Regions from separate parts of the Homo sapiens genome. Here all the other regions are linked to region 3. Evidence: promoter capture Hi-C in human tissues and cell types (Jung and others, 2019). All regions are on one chromosome and are shown on one strand. Each heading gives the region's core, a stretch centred on a gene start or on the middle of the fragment in contact. The rest is flanking DNA. Distances are from core to core; before and after follow the strand shown. Region 1 overlaps RBBP6 (RB binding protein 6, ubiquitin ligase). Region 2 has its middle 60 kb from the start of RBBP6. Region 3 holds the start of ARHGAP17 (Rho GTPase activating protein 17). Region 4 overlaps TNRC6A (trinucleotide repeat containing adaptor 6A).

What was found. The method cuts DNA at HindIII sites, captures the fragments that hold promoters and counts their contacts. A contact is called where the count stands out against the background at its distance.
Region 1: a contact is called between a fragment that was not itself captured here and the fragment with the promoter of ARHGAP17 in region 3, in 1 of the 25 tissues and cell types used here (mesenchymal stem cells).
Region 2: a fragment that was not itself captured here is called in contact with the fragment with the promoter of ARHGAP17 in region 3 in 1 of the 25 tissues and cell types used here (dorsolateral prefrontal cortex).
Region 4: a contact is called between a fragment that was not itself captured here and the fragment with the promoter of ARHGAP17 in region 3, in 2 of the 25 tissues and cell types used here (aorta and dorsolateral prefrontal cortex).

What each region holds. Positions count from the first base shown.
Region 1 is chr16:24,569,327-24,572,360 of GRCh38, forward strand. It overlaps RBBP6 (RB binding protein 6, ubiquitin ligase), which reads left to right. Exons shown (of 18, transcript NM_006910.5): 17 at 1-1,173; 18 at 1,550-3,034. Among named protein-coding and RNA genes, the nearest start is that of RBBP6, 31 kb to the left of the region's middle. The HindIII fragment of the contact is 8,080 bases long and covers 1-3,034 here.
Region 2 is chr16:24,597,837-24,600,702 of GRCh38, forward strand. No RefSeq gene overlaps it. Among named protein-coding and RNA genes, the nearest start is that of RBBP6, 60 kb to the left of the region's middle. The HindIII fragment of the contact is 3,086 bases long and covers 11-2,866 here.
Region 3 is chr16:25,014,090-25,016,918 of GRCh38, forward strand. It overlaps ARHGAP17 (Rho GTPase activating protein 17), which reads right to left and starts at 1,280. Exons shown (of 20, transcript NM_001006634.3): 1 at 1,120-1,280. The coding sequence starts at 1,172. It also overlaps the pseudogene LOC100421171. RefSeq lists enhancers at 168-836, 837-1,505 and silencers at 819-868, 929-978, 1,039-1,088, 1,169-1,418. The HindIII fragment of the contact is 28,450 bases long and covers 1-2,829 here.
Region 4 is chr16:24,745,705-24,748,923 of GRCh38, forward strand. The region is part of intron 2 of TNRC6A (trinucleotide repeat containing adaptor 6A); the gene reads left to right. Among named protein-coding and RNA genes, the nearest start is that of TNRC6A, 18 kb to the left of the region's middle. The HindIII fragment of the contact is 3,228 bases long and covers 251-3,219 here.

The DNA of each region.
Region 1 (3,034 bases), core at 14-2,513, 440 kb before region 3:
CAGAGAAGACTATGTTGGTGGGCAAAGTCATAGAAGTCGAAACATAGGTAGCAACTATCCAGAAAAGCTTTCAGCAAGAGATGGTCACAATCAGAAGGATAATACAAAGTCAAAAGAGAAGGAGAGTGAAAACGCTCCAGGAGATGGTAAAGGAAATAAGCATAAGAAACACAGAAAAAGAAGAAAAGGGGAGGAAAGTGAGGGTTTTCTGAACCCAGAGTTATTAGAGACTTCTAGGAAATCAAGAGAACCTACAGGTGTTGAAGAAAATAAAACAGACTCATTGTTTGTTCTCCCAAGTAGAGATGATGCCACACCTGTTAGAGATGAACCAATGGATGCAGAATCAATCACTTTTAAATCAGTGTCTGAAAAAGACAAGAGAGAAAGGGATAAACCAAAAGCAAAGGGTGATAAAACCAAACGGAAGAATGATGGATCTGCTGTGTCCAAAAAAGAAAATATTGTAAAACCTGCTAAAGGACCCCAAGAAAAAGTAGATGGAGAACGTGAGAGATCTCCTCGATCTGAACCTCCAATTAAAAAAGCCAAAGAGGAGACTCCGAAGACTGACAATACTAAATCATCATCTTCCTCTCAGAAGGATGAAAAAATCACTGGAACCCCCAGAAAAGCTCACTCTAAATCAGCAAAAGAACACCAAGAAACAAAACCAGTCAAAGAGGAAAAAGTGAAGAAGGACTATTCCAAAGATGTCAAATCAGAAAAGCTAACAACTAAGGAAGAAAAGGCCAAGAAGCCTAATGAGAAAAACAAACCACTTGATAATAAGGGAGAAAAAAGAAAAAGAAAAACTGAAGAAAAAGGCGTAGATAAAGATTTTGAGTCTTCTTCAATGAAAATCTCGAAACTAGAAGTGACTGAAATAGTGAAACCATCACCAAAGCGCAAAATGGAACCTGATACTGAAAAAATGGATAGGACCCCTGAAAAGGACAAAATTTCTTTAAGTGCGCCAGCCAAAAAAATCAAACTCAACAGAGAAACTGGGAAGAAAATTGGAAGTACAGAAAATATATCAAACACAAAAGAACCCTCTGAAAAATTGGAGTCAACATCTAGCAAAGTTAAACAAGAAAAAGTCAAAGGAAAGGTCAGACGAAAAGTGACTGGAACTGAAGGATCCAGCTCAACTCTGGTGGATTACACCAGGTAGCTGAGTGTAGGGGGTGGGTGTGGAACTTTGTTGGGAGAAGGATTTTCTTCAGTTTTATCCATGCTTGTGCTTTTTATATTAATTATGAATGCTGATCTAGGGAAGTAGGCTGGTTTTATGTAGTCTTTTGTTGTCTTTGAAGAAGGGAATTGCCAAAGACAAGGTTGTAAATAGATTTTGGGGGTGAGCCACATTTGTGTTGATACAATCATAATCTTAAATTGTGTGTCTTCCTTAGGGCAGAATAAGTTTTTTGTTTTTTTTAATGTTAAAAGGACATTTGTGTTTAAGTTAGCATTTTTATATTTATCAGTGTTTTATAATTAATAGTAAATTCTTCATTAATTAAAAATATTTTGTTATTCTTTTTAGTACGAGCTCAACTGGAGGCAGTCCTGTGCGGAAATCTGAAGAAAAAACAGATACAAAGCGAACTGTGATTAAAACGATGGAAGAATATAATAATGACAATACCGCGCCAGCTGAAGATGTTATCATTATGATTCAGGTTCCTCAATCCAAATGGGATAAAGATGACTTTGAATCTGAAGAAGAAGATGTTAAATCCACACAGCCTATATCAAGTGTAGGAAAACCTGCTAGTGTTATAAAAAATGTTAGTACAAAGCCATCAAATATAGTCAAGTATCCTGAGAAAGAAAGTGAGCCATCCGAGAAAATTCAGAAATTCACCAAGGACGTGAGCCATGAAATCATACAACATGAGGTTAAAAGTTCAAAAAACTCTGCATCTAGTGAAAAAGGGAAAACCAAAGATCGAGATTATTCAGTGTTGGAAAAGGAGAACCCTGAAAAGAGGAAGAACAGCACTCAGCCAGAGAAAGAGAGTAATTTGGACCGTCTGAATGAACAAGGAAATTTTAAAAGTCTGTCTCAATCTTCCAAAGAGGCTAGAACGTCAGATAAACATGATTCCACTCGTGCTTCCTCAAATAAAGACTTCACTCCCAATAGAGACAAAAAAACTGACTATGACACCAGAGAGTATTCAAGTTCCAAACGTAGAGATGAAAAGAATGAATTAACAAGACGAAAAGACTCTCCTTCTCGGAATAAAGATTCTGCATCTGGACAGAAAAATAAACCAAGGGAAGAGAGAGATTTGCCTAAAAAAGGAACAGGAGATTCCAAAAAAAGTAATTCTAGTCCCTCAAGAGACAGAAAACCTCATGATCACAAAGCCACTTATGATACTAAACGGCCAAATGAAGAGACAAAATCTGTAGATAAAAATCCTTGTAAGGATCGTGAGAAGCATGTATTAGAAGCAAGGAACAATAAAGAGTCAAGTGGCAATAAACTACTTTATATACTTAACCCACCAGAGACACAGGTTGAAAAAGAGCAAATTACTGGGCAAATTGACAAGAGTACTGTCAAGCCTAAACCCCAGTTAAGTCATTCCTCTAGACTTTCCTCTGACTTAACTAGAGAAACTGATGAAGCTGCTTTTGAACCAGACTATAATGAAAGTGACAGTGAAAGTAATGTTTCTGTAAAAGAAGAGGAATCTTCAGGAAACATTTCTAAGGACCTGAAAGATAAAATAGTGGAGAAAGCAAAAGAGAGCCTGGACACAGCAGCAGTTGTCCAGGTGGGCATAAGCAGGAATCAGAGCCACAGCAGCCCCAGCGTCAGCCCCAGCAGAAGCCACAGTCCTTCTGGAAGCCAGACCCGAAGCCACAGTAGCAGTGCCAGCTCAGCAGAAAGTCAGGACAGCAAGAAGAAGAAGAAAAAGAAGGAAAAGAAAAAACACAAGAAACATAAAAAGCATAAGAAGCATAAGAAACATGCAGGCACTGAAGTGGAATTGGAAAAAAGCCAAAAACACAAACA
Region 2 (2,866 bases), core at 304-2,803, 420 kb before region 3:
TTCACGCTATTGTAAAGGGTATTTCTTAAGATTTTTATTTCTGACTGTTGCTAGCAGAGAGAAATACAGTAGAATTTGGAAACTGGGGTTATATCCTGAAACCTCACTAAACTCACATATTAACTCTTTCATAGGATTTTCTACATAAATGATCATGTCACCTGCAAAGACAATCTTGCTTCTTTCTTTCTAAACTGAATGCCTTTTATTTGCTTTTTTTCCCCTTACCTAATGGCCCTGGCTAGAACCTACAGTACAATGTTGAATAGTATTGGTGAGAGCAGACATCCTTGTCTTGTTCCTGATCTTAGGGGGAGAGCTTTCAGTCTTTTACCATTAAATATGATGTTAGCTGTATATTTTTTTTATAAATGCCCTTTATCAGGTTGATGAAGTTCCCTTCTATTCCCAGTTTGTTAAGAGTTATTATCAGAAATGAACATTTGATTTTGCCAATTTTTTTCAGCATCTATTGAGATATTTATGTGGTTTTTCTTTACTAGTTTATTATTATGTGTATTACATTAATTGAACATTAAACCAACCCTATTTGCTGGGCAAATTCCGCTTGGCCATTGCGCATCAGCCTCCTCATTCACTGTTAAATTTGATTTGCTACAATTTTGTTAAGAATTTATTCATCTAAGTTCAAGAGGGATGTTACTCTGTGGTTACGTTCTTTGTGCTGTCTTTGTCTGGACTTGGTATCAGAGTAACGCTGGCCTCACAGAATCAGCTGAGAAAAATTCCTTCCTCTTCAATTTTCTAGAAGAGCTTGTGTTGAATTAAAATTAATTTTTCCTTAATGATTTGATAGAATTCCTGAGTGAAGTCATCTGGCTCTCCAGTTTTCTTTGTTGAAAAGATCTAAGCTATGATTTCAAGTTCTTTAAGAGAAATATATACTTTCCAGGTTATCTTTTCTTGAGTGATGTTTAGTATTTGCGTCTTTCCAGGAATGTATCTATTTCATCTAAGTTGTCAAATTTACTGGCATAAACTTGTTCATAATATTCTCTGGTTATCCTTTTTAATGTCTATAGAATCTGGAATAATGTTATCTCTCTCATTCTGATATTGGTAATTTGTTCATTCGTTTGTTTGTTTGTTTGAGATGGAGTCTCGCTCTGTCGCCCCGTGATCTCAGCTCACTGCAACCTCCAACTCCCAGGTTCAAGCAATTCTCTTGCCTAAGCCTCCTGAGTAGCTGGTATTACAGGTGCCTGCCACCATGCCTGGCTAATTTTTCTATTTTTAGTAGAGACGGGGTTTCACCATGTTGCCCAGGTTGATCTCAAACTGCTGGCCTCAGGTGTTTCACCCGCCTCGGCCTCCCAGAGTGCTGGGATTACAGGCAGGAGCCACTGCACTTGGCCTCTGATATTGGTAATTTGTGTTTTCTCTTTTTTTCCTGATCAATATGGCTAGAGGTTTGTGAATTTTATTGATCTGAAAGCTTCTAATATTAGCTTCTGATATTTCTGCATTTTTCAGTTTTCCATTTCATTCATTTCTATTCTGGTTTTTATAATTTCCTTTATTCTCTTTGTTTTCTTTGTGATTTTGCTCTCTTTTTAGTTTCTTAAGGTAATAGCTGATGTTATTGTGATTTTTCTTTTCTAAGAAGGTATTTAAAATTATAAATTTCCATTTAAATACTGTTTTAGCTTCATCCAACAAATTTTTATATGTTTGTGTTTTTATTTTCTTTCGGTTAAAAATTCTAATGTCCCTTTTAATTTCTCCTTTGACCCATGGGTTATTTAGAAGTGTATTATTTAGTTTCCAAATATTTGTGGATTTTTCAGTTATCTTTCTGTTATTGATGTCTAATTTAACACCATTTTGGTCAGAAAAGATACTCTGTATGGTTTGAATCCATTTAAGTTTATTTGGATTTATTCTCATTCTCCCCGATTTAATCTAGGAGGGTTGTATGTTTCCAGGAATTTATCCATCTCCTCTAGGTTTTCTAGTTTGTGCGTGCAAAGGTGTTCATAGTAGCCTTGAATGATCTTTTGTATTTCTGTGGTGTCTGTTGTAATATCTCCCGTTTCATTTCTAATTGAGCTTATTTGGATTTTCTCCCTTCTTTTCTTGGTTAATCTTGCTAATGGTCTATCAATTTTATTTATCTTTTCAAAGAAACCACTTTTTGTTTCATTTATCTTTTGTATTTTTTGTTTGTTTGTTTCAATTTCATTTAGTTCTGCTCTGATCTTGGTTATTTCCTTTCTTCTGCTAGGTTTGGGTTTGGTTTGTTCTTGTTTCTCTAGTTCCTTGAGGTGTGACCTTAGATTGTCTATTTGTGCTCTTTCAGACTTTTTTGATGTAGGCATTTAGGGCTATGAACTTTCCTCTTAGCACTGCTTTTGCTGTATCCCGCAGGTGTTGATATGTTGTGTCACTATTATCATTCAGTTTGAAGAATTTTTAAATTTCCATCTTGATTTCATTGTGACCCAATGCTCATTCAGGAGCAGGTTATTTAATTTCCATGTAATTGCACGGTGTTGAAGATTCCTTTTAAAGTTGATTTCCAGTTTCAGATCCACTGTGGTCTGAGTGCTTGATATAATTTTAATTTTCTTAAATTTATTGAGATTTATTTATGACTGAGACTATGGTTTATTCTGGTAAATGTTCTATGTGCACTTGAAAAGAATATATATTCTGCAGTTGTATGAAGCGTTCCATAAATCTCAATTAGGTCAAATTTGTTCAAGTGTTGTTCAAGTCGTCTGTATCCTTGCTTATTTTCTGTCTAGTTGTTCTATTAATTATCAAAAGAGGGATGTTGAAATATCTGCTTATAATAGTAGATTTGTCTGTTTCTCCTTGCTGTTCAATCAATTCTGCTTCCTGT
Region 3 (2,829 bases), core at 30-2,529:
GGAGGAAATGAAACAGTAAAAAGCAAATTTAGAAAACTCGAGAGGAAGTAAAAGTATTTTCATACACTCAAAAAAAAGAAGTGTCCCACGTGCTTCAGCCAAACCAAACTCCCCTTAACTGTTAAAAACAGAAAATCAAAAGAAGAGCTGTGAGAAATTCATACTTTCGTATCTCTTTGCTGAATAAACACTAAATCGGTACAGTACAGCCAGCTGCCCTGAAAGACCTTGAAATATTAGCCCCAGATAATACAGCACATGACAGTCACCTCCAGAAACTCTCAAAAACCACAAATCATTTCTTGTTCTGACAACCTGATCTACCAACTCTGGTCTAGCCTGCCATTTAATAATCAATAACGTTTCTTGTTAAGCACTTCAACCGTAGCAAAGGAAGATAAAGAAGCATTTGTTTCCAAACCTAAGGTGAGACTTTTTAAATTGGCGCAAGGCGTCTCCATAATCCTTTTCCGCCAATTCCTAATTTCTAAATGTCAAGAACTGGCAGCAGCAGTCCAGTTCCTAGGAGCCCTGGTTTTGAGACAGCACCACCTCCGAATTCCCTCAAAGGGCGTTCTGAACTCACTGAGCAAATCCGGCTGGCTTTCATGTCCCTCTAGCCATTTCTTGCCGCCATGCACTTACAGGAGAAGGACTCGCAAACAGCGGGAGCACCGGGAAAGCCTGGGACTGCCGCCCCCCACAGCACAGCGCTCGGCACAGCGTTAGGGACAGAAGTCACCGTTGTTGAGCCCAGGGCAGCGATCCCAGCTGGCTCGGCCCCCGGGAAGGGAGGAGAAGGACCGGGTCTACTCCCCGAGGGCGATGCTCCCGGGGCAGGGACAATGGGCAGGGGACCCCGCGGTGTGGCGGAGGAGGCGGCGGCCCTCCCCTGCAGGTCTCGGGAGCCCGGCGGCGCTGAGAGACAGGCGGGCCGCCTGGAGCGCGGCGCTCGGGCCTCAGCGCGGCGCAGCCCCCGGGCCCGTGCCCCGCTGGTCTCGGGCAGGGGCTGCGGCCCAGCTCAGAGCCGCCGGACCGCGGAGGAGCCGTCCCGCCCCCGCGCCCTCCGCCCTCCGCCCCCAGCCCCGGTGCGACCCCCGTGCTGCCCGGCGCACTCGCCTGCCCACGGTCTGGTTAGCCAGCTGCTTCATGCGGTTGAACTGCTTCTTCATGGCGGCGGTGGCGGCGGCGGCCCGCGGGGCTCGGGCCGGGCAGGGCGGGGGACAGCCTGGCAGCTACTACATCGCTTCCCGGCCCAAACGGCGGCGCGGCGGTGGCTCCCCGGGCCGGCGGCCCCGCCCTCGCCTCGTCACTTCCAGTGGCACCGCCCGCCCGCCCTCTAGGTCTGGCCGAGCCGAGCTGAGCCCGAGTAGAGCCGAGTCGAACCGAGCCGAGGCTAACAGTGCCTTACCTGACACGGGCGAAGAGCTAGAAGGCCCCGGGCGAGAAGACCACTAGGCCTCCTCCGCCTGGCCTCCCCGACCCCAACGCTGCCCGGTCACCCTCTCGTTTATTTCAACGTATGAAAAGCTGTTTCTAGCAGGGCGCAGTGGTTCAACGTTGTAATCTCAGCACTTTGGGAGGCCGAGGGGGCAGATCACTTGAGCTCGGGAGTTCGAGAGCAGCCTGGCCAACACGGTGAAATCCTGTCTCTACTAACAATACAAATTTAGCTGGGCGTGGTGGTGGACGCCTGTAATCCCAGCTACTCAGGAGGCTGAAGCAGGAGAACGGCTTTTACCCGAAAGGCAGAGGTTGCAGTGAGCCGAGATGGCGCCACTGCACTCCAGCCTGGGCAACAGAGTGAGAGACCCTGTCTCGAAAAAAAAAAAAAAAAAAAAAATTAAAGTCAATGTGTGTTTTCCTTAACACACGTGCTCACACACTCATGTCTTCCTGGTTTGGTGGCCTTGGCTCCAGGTAAGCCCCTTCTTTGCATTGGATGGGCAGCAATGTGGCTTCTTTCATCAGCCACATCTCAAATGTGCTCCTAAATGTCATAGAAAAAGGAAAGAGCTCCCTAACTATGGGATAAAGGAGACTGATGCCAGTTTGGAATTCTTAATATCAAAGAATGAGGGACTTCAAGATCTTTTTAGTGACCTAGGAGAGACCTAGGAAGCATCAGAGCTTCAGATAGGGCAGCAAACTAAAAGTTATCGACATCAATTACAACAGAAAGAGGTAGAAATGAGCCTTCCTAAAACAAGAAAGCAAGCACTACAGGATCGGTTGCAGGACCGGCAGCCAGCCCTGGAGTCAGCACATTCAGGGAAGGCCGGAGGTTCCCATCCACACTGCATCCCCTCCATTCCATGTGGTACCCATCATGCTTCAGTGTTCCACGACGCTTACATGGGTTTTTATGACATAATTTCATCATAACAAGAAATAAACAGATAGTCCAATGAAGTTCTAAAACTTGAGTCTCCAGTTGGCCATTGGAAATGTATTGCTCAGACTTATAAAATAGGAGGAACAACTAGTTTTGATGAAAATGAAATCTACAAACTACAAACACCAAATATTAATATCATCAAGGAGCTCAAACAAAAAAGAAGTCAGGATACTGATGACCATCAGCTTGAATTATCAGTATTACAGAATGTTCATCAACAGAAATTGAGGGAAATAAGTTGTAAGCATCAAGAAAATCTAAGCAATTAGGAAGAAAAGATTGAAGAACTGGAAAATTTGTTACAGCAAGGTGGCTCAGGAATTACAGTACATGATCTCTCTAAACTTCAAGAGAAGGAAAACACTATTCATGCAAGCTCTACAAATTGAAAAAGTAGAGTCTACCAAAAAATTGAAGAATTTGAACATAGA
Region 4 (3,219 bases), core at 615-3,114, 270 kb before region 3:
AATCATAGCTCACTGCAGCCTCCAACTCCTAGGCTCAGTTGATTCTTGGGCCTCAGCCTCCCATGTAGCTGAGACTACAGGTATGTACCATCCCCCCCCCCCCCAGCTAATTGTTAGGATATTTTGAGTTATCTCAGATTTATTCTTTGCTTGCTTTTTTCACTGCCACCATGCTAGTTTGGGGAACTACACATTCACTTAGATTTTCGCAACAGTCTTCTCACCCTTGTTTTTGCCAATTTATTGCCTATTCTTACCCAACATTTTCCCTCCCTTTTTCAATTCCAGTCAGTGCTGGTCCCTGCAATTGTCATGCTGACAAGTCTCCATACTTCGCTTGTGCCCACACCTTTCTGTGCTCCTAAAAAATCTTGCCTCTTTTGCAAGAGCCAGATCAACTTCTTACTGCTCCATAAAGCCTTCCACAGTTGAAACAGCTCTTATACCTGTCTTACTTCACTAATCTTGTTTACAACCTGTACCAAATGTTTGCTTGTTTTCTTATTTCAGATGTGTTCAGTTGTTTCTACAAAATTGTAGGAATTTTTTTCCTATAAAAAAAATCATGTTTCCTAGCTGAGTGCAGTGGCTCACCCCTGTAATCCCAGTACTTTGGTAGGCCGAGGTAGGAGGATTGCTTGAGCCCAGGAGTTTGACACCAGCACCACCTCATTCCAGCTCGGGGCAACTGAGTGAGACTTCGTCTCTAAATAAATAAATAAGAAGTTTAGTGCTTGAGGTTTCTATTGGGAGCTGGTTCTGTACACTATGGAAATCTACTCCCCGCCCCACTTTAAAATTACTGTGTAGTATTCCTTGGTGTGATTACAGGATGATTTAACTTTTCCCTATTGATTGGTTTTTGGTTATGATTTTATGCTGCGGTGTCTATCTTTGTACGGTTCCTTTTTCAGAGGCTTAGATTTGAATTGATGGATCATAAGATAGTGACATTTAAAAATTCATTGTGAATAGATACTTCCAAATTGCTCACCAGAAGCTTAGTGCTAGTCCATACATACTTCTGATAGCAAGTACAAGAGTACCCTTCAGAAGGGATTAATTTTAATGATATTCAGGGCTGGGAATGTAGGAAAAATTGACCATCAAGTGTCAGGAGGCGCAAGAGTAGGAAGGGGCATTCTACCTCCAAGGTGTACCCTGCTCCCTTGATAGGCCCTTGAAATAGAGACAGACTCTCACTATGTTGCCCATTCTGTTCTCAAACTCCTGGCCTCCCAGACTCCTGGGATTACAGGCCTGAGCCACCATACCCGGCCAGAAACGCATTCTTGAACGGTACAAGTAAATCATTTGTAGTGGCTACTGGAAGATACGGGCAAAATTTGAAGCTTAGCTTGATTTGTTGTGTGGAATCCTAATCTTGATCTATTTGTTTTTTCAGATCGAGATATTGCATTTCCCCTAGTCAATGTATGAAACCAACTTTAAAATACAATTTACATACAGTAAAATTCAAACATTGAGTGTGTAGGTGAATGATTTGACAAATGTATACACCCTTGTAATTATCACTCCAATCAAGTTAGAAAACATTTCCATTTTCCTAGAAAGTTCCCTCAGTGGCATTGACTTTTACAGGCCACCTCAAAGCCTTTATACATGAGATGCAGGACATAAGTCAAGTTCTGATAAAAGGGGAGTCTGGTTTTTACAGACAACGAGGTAGATTCATAGAACTTACAGATGTGAGGTATCCTGCAAAGTAGCCTTCAGGGCATGGATGATTGCTAACTGGAGTGTTGTCTTGGTGGCAGGTGCATCAAACAGGGTGGCCCACTTAGGCCTTTCAAATCCATCAGTCCTTGCTCCTCTTGATAGTTGTGGTAAATGATATAGTCAGATGTCTTAAGTGAGTCTCTATGAACATTTAACTCCTGGAAGCTGACGTGTTTGGGCACAGGTGTTGTTGTTGTTTTTCCAGTTGGCTTTCTCTGAAGGAGGAGATATGGGAAAAAGCATGACTGGTTGGCTGTGATGATAGTGTTGAAGAACAAAACTTACTCCCCTCTGTGCTTACAGTATCGGCTGATACTGTGATATTTCCTTGAGAAGAAATGTCTGGTACATCTTTTAAGTACTAAAGGGGATATTTTTGGCCAGGAAAACACTTGCTAGTAACCTCATCAGAAAGTCTTGAAAATGAAGTTTGAGAAAGGAGAAAATACTCCAGATAGAGACCATTACATGGAGTAAAATTATAGTGACATAGAAGATCAGAAAAGGACATGTCTGTAATTCACAGCAGAACATGAAGAACAAATGCTGAAGGTGCTAGATGTTTCTGAATAAGTACCTGTGCTATTTTGACACAAGAAGGGTAAAGACAGCCTTTTGGGTGCCACTGAGGACTGGTGAGTTGGATTCATGGCTAGGCAATTGAGTGCTTACTAGATAAGCTTTGTGCTAAGTAAGCAGTCCTAATTCTTATAAAAATATTAAGACATTGACATGTATGGTCATTTGCCCCCAGTTTTTTCATGAAGAAACAGAGGCTGAAGAAGATTAAGTATTTTTAACTAGTAATCAGCTTTTAATCTTGACTTCTGCATGTCTCAGGGTAGGTAACATGACAGTGGTGTAACCTAGTTGCCGTTGTTTACTGATTTTACTCTGCTGCTCTCATATGCTGTGGCTTTCTTGCTCCTTGACTTCCCTGGGATTGTAGTGTGAGTGAGCTTGTTCAGTCTTACTACCTCCTGCACACAGAATTCAAAAGAGAGTGAGTCATGGCCACAGTTGGCAGGAATCTGTTATGTTACTCCATTAGCCACATGACACTTCTGCTTGTAACAAAATGACAGCGAAGTATAGCAACAGTTATCATACTCTTCTTCCAGTTATCCTTTTAGCTGATTTTAGTAGTCCTATACTTTACTAAGTTTTTATCAATTGTGCATAATGTCATTCATTTCATTTTTCGGTGTCTGCATCTCCTCTCAGTCTGTTCCATCAGCAAAGCCAACTTAAATTTTGTTTAATCTCATTGCAGCGCACCTATAGCAACAACCCCTTCCAGTTTCTTAGGCACTTGTCTTTCTCCTTTTATCTTCTTCAACATCCCTACTGCCATATGCATTCCAGCCTTGATAAATAATGTGCAGCTTCCAAAATGTCTAGTTCATATCTCCAAATCTCTCTTTTTCTGCCTGATATTCCTTTTTTTTGAAACAGAGTCTTGCTCTGTCGCCCAGGCTG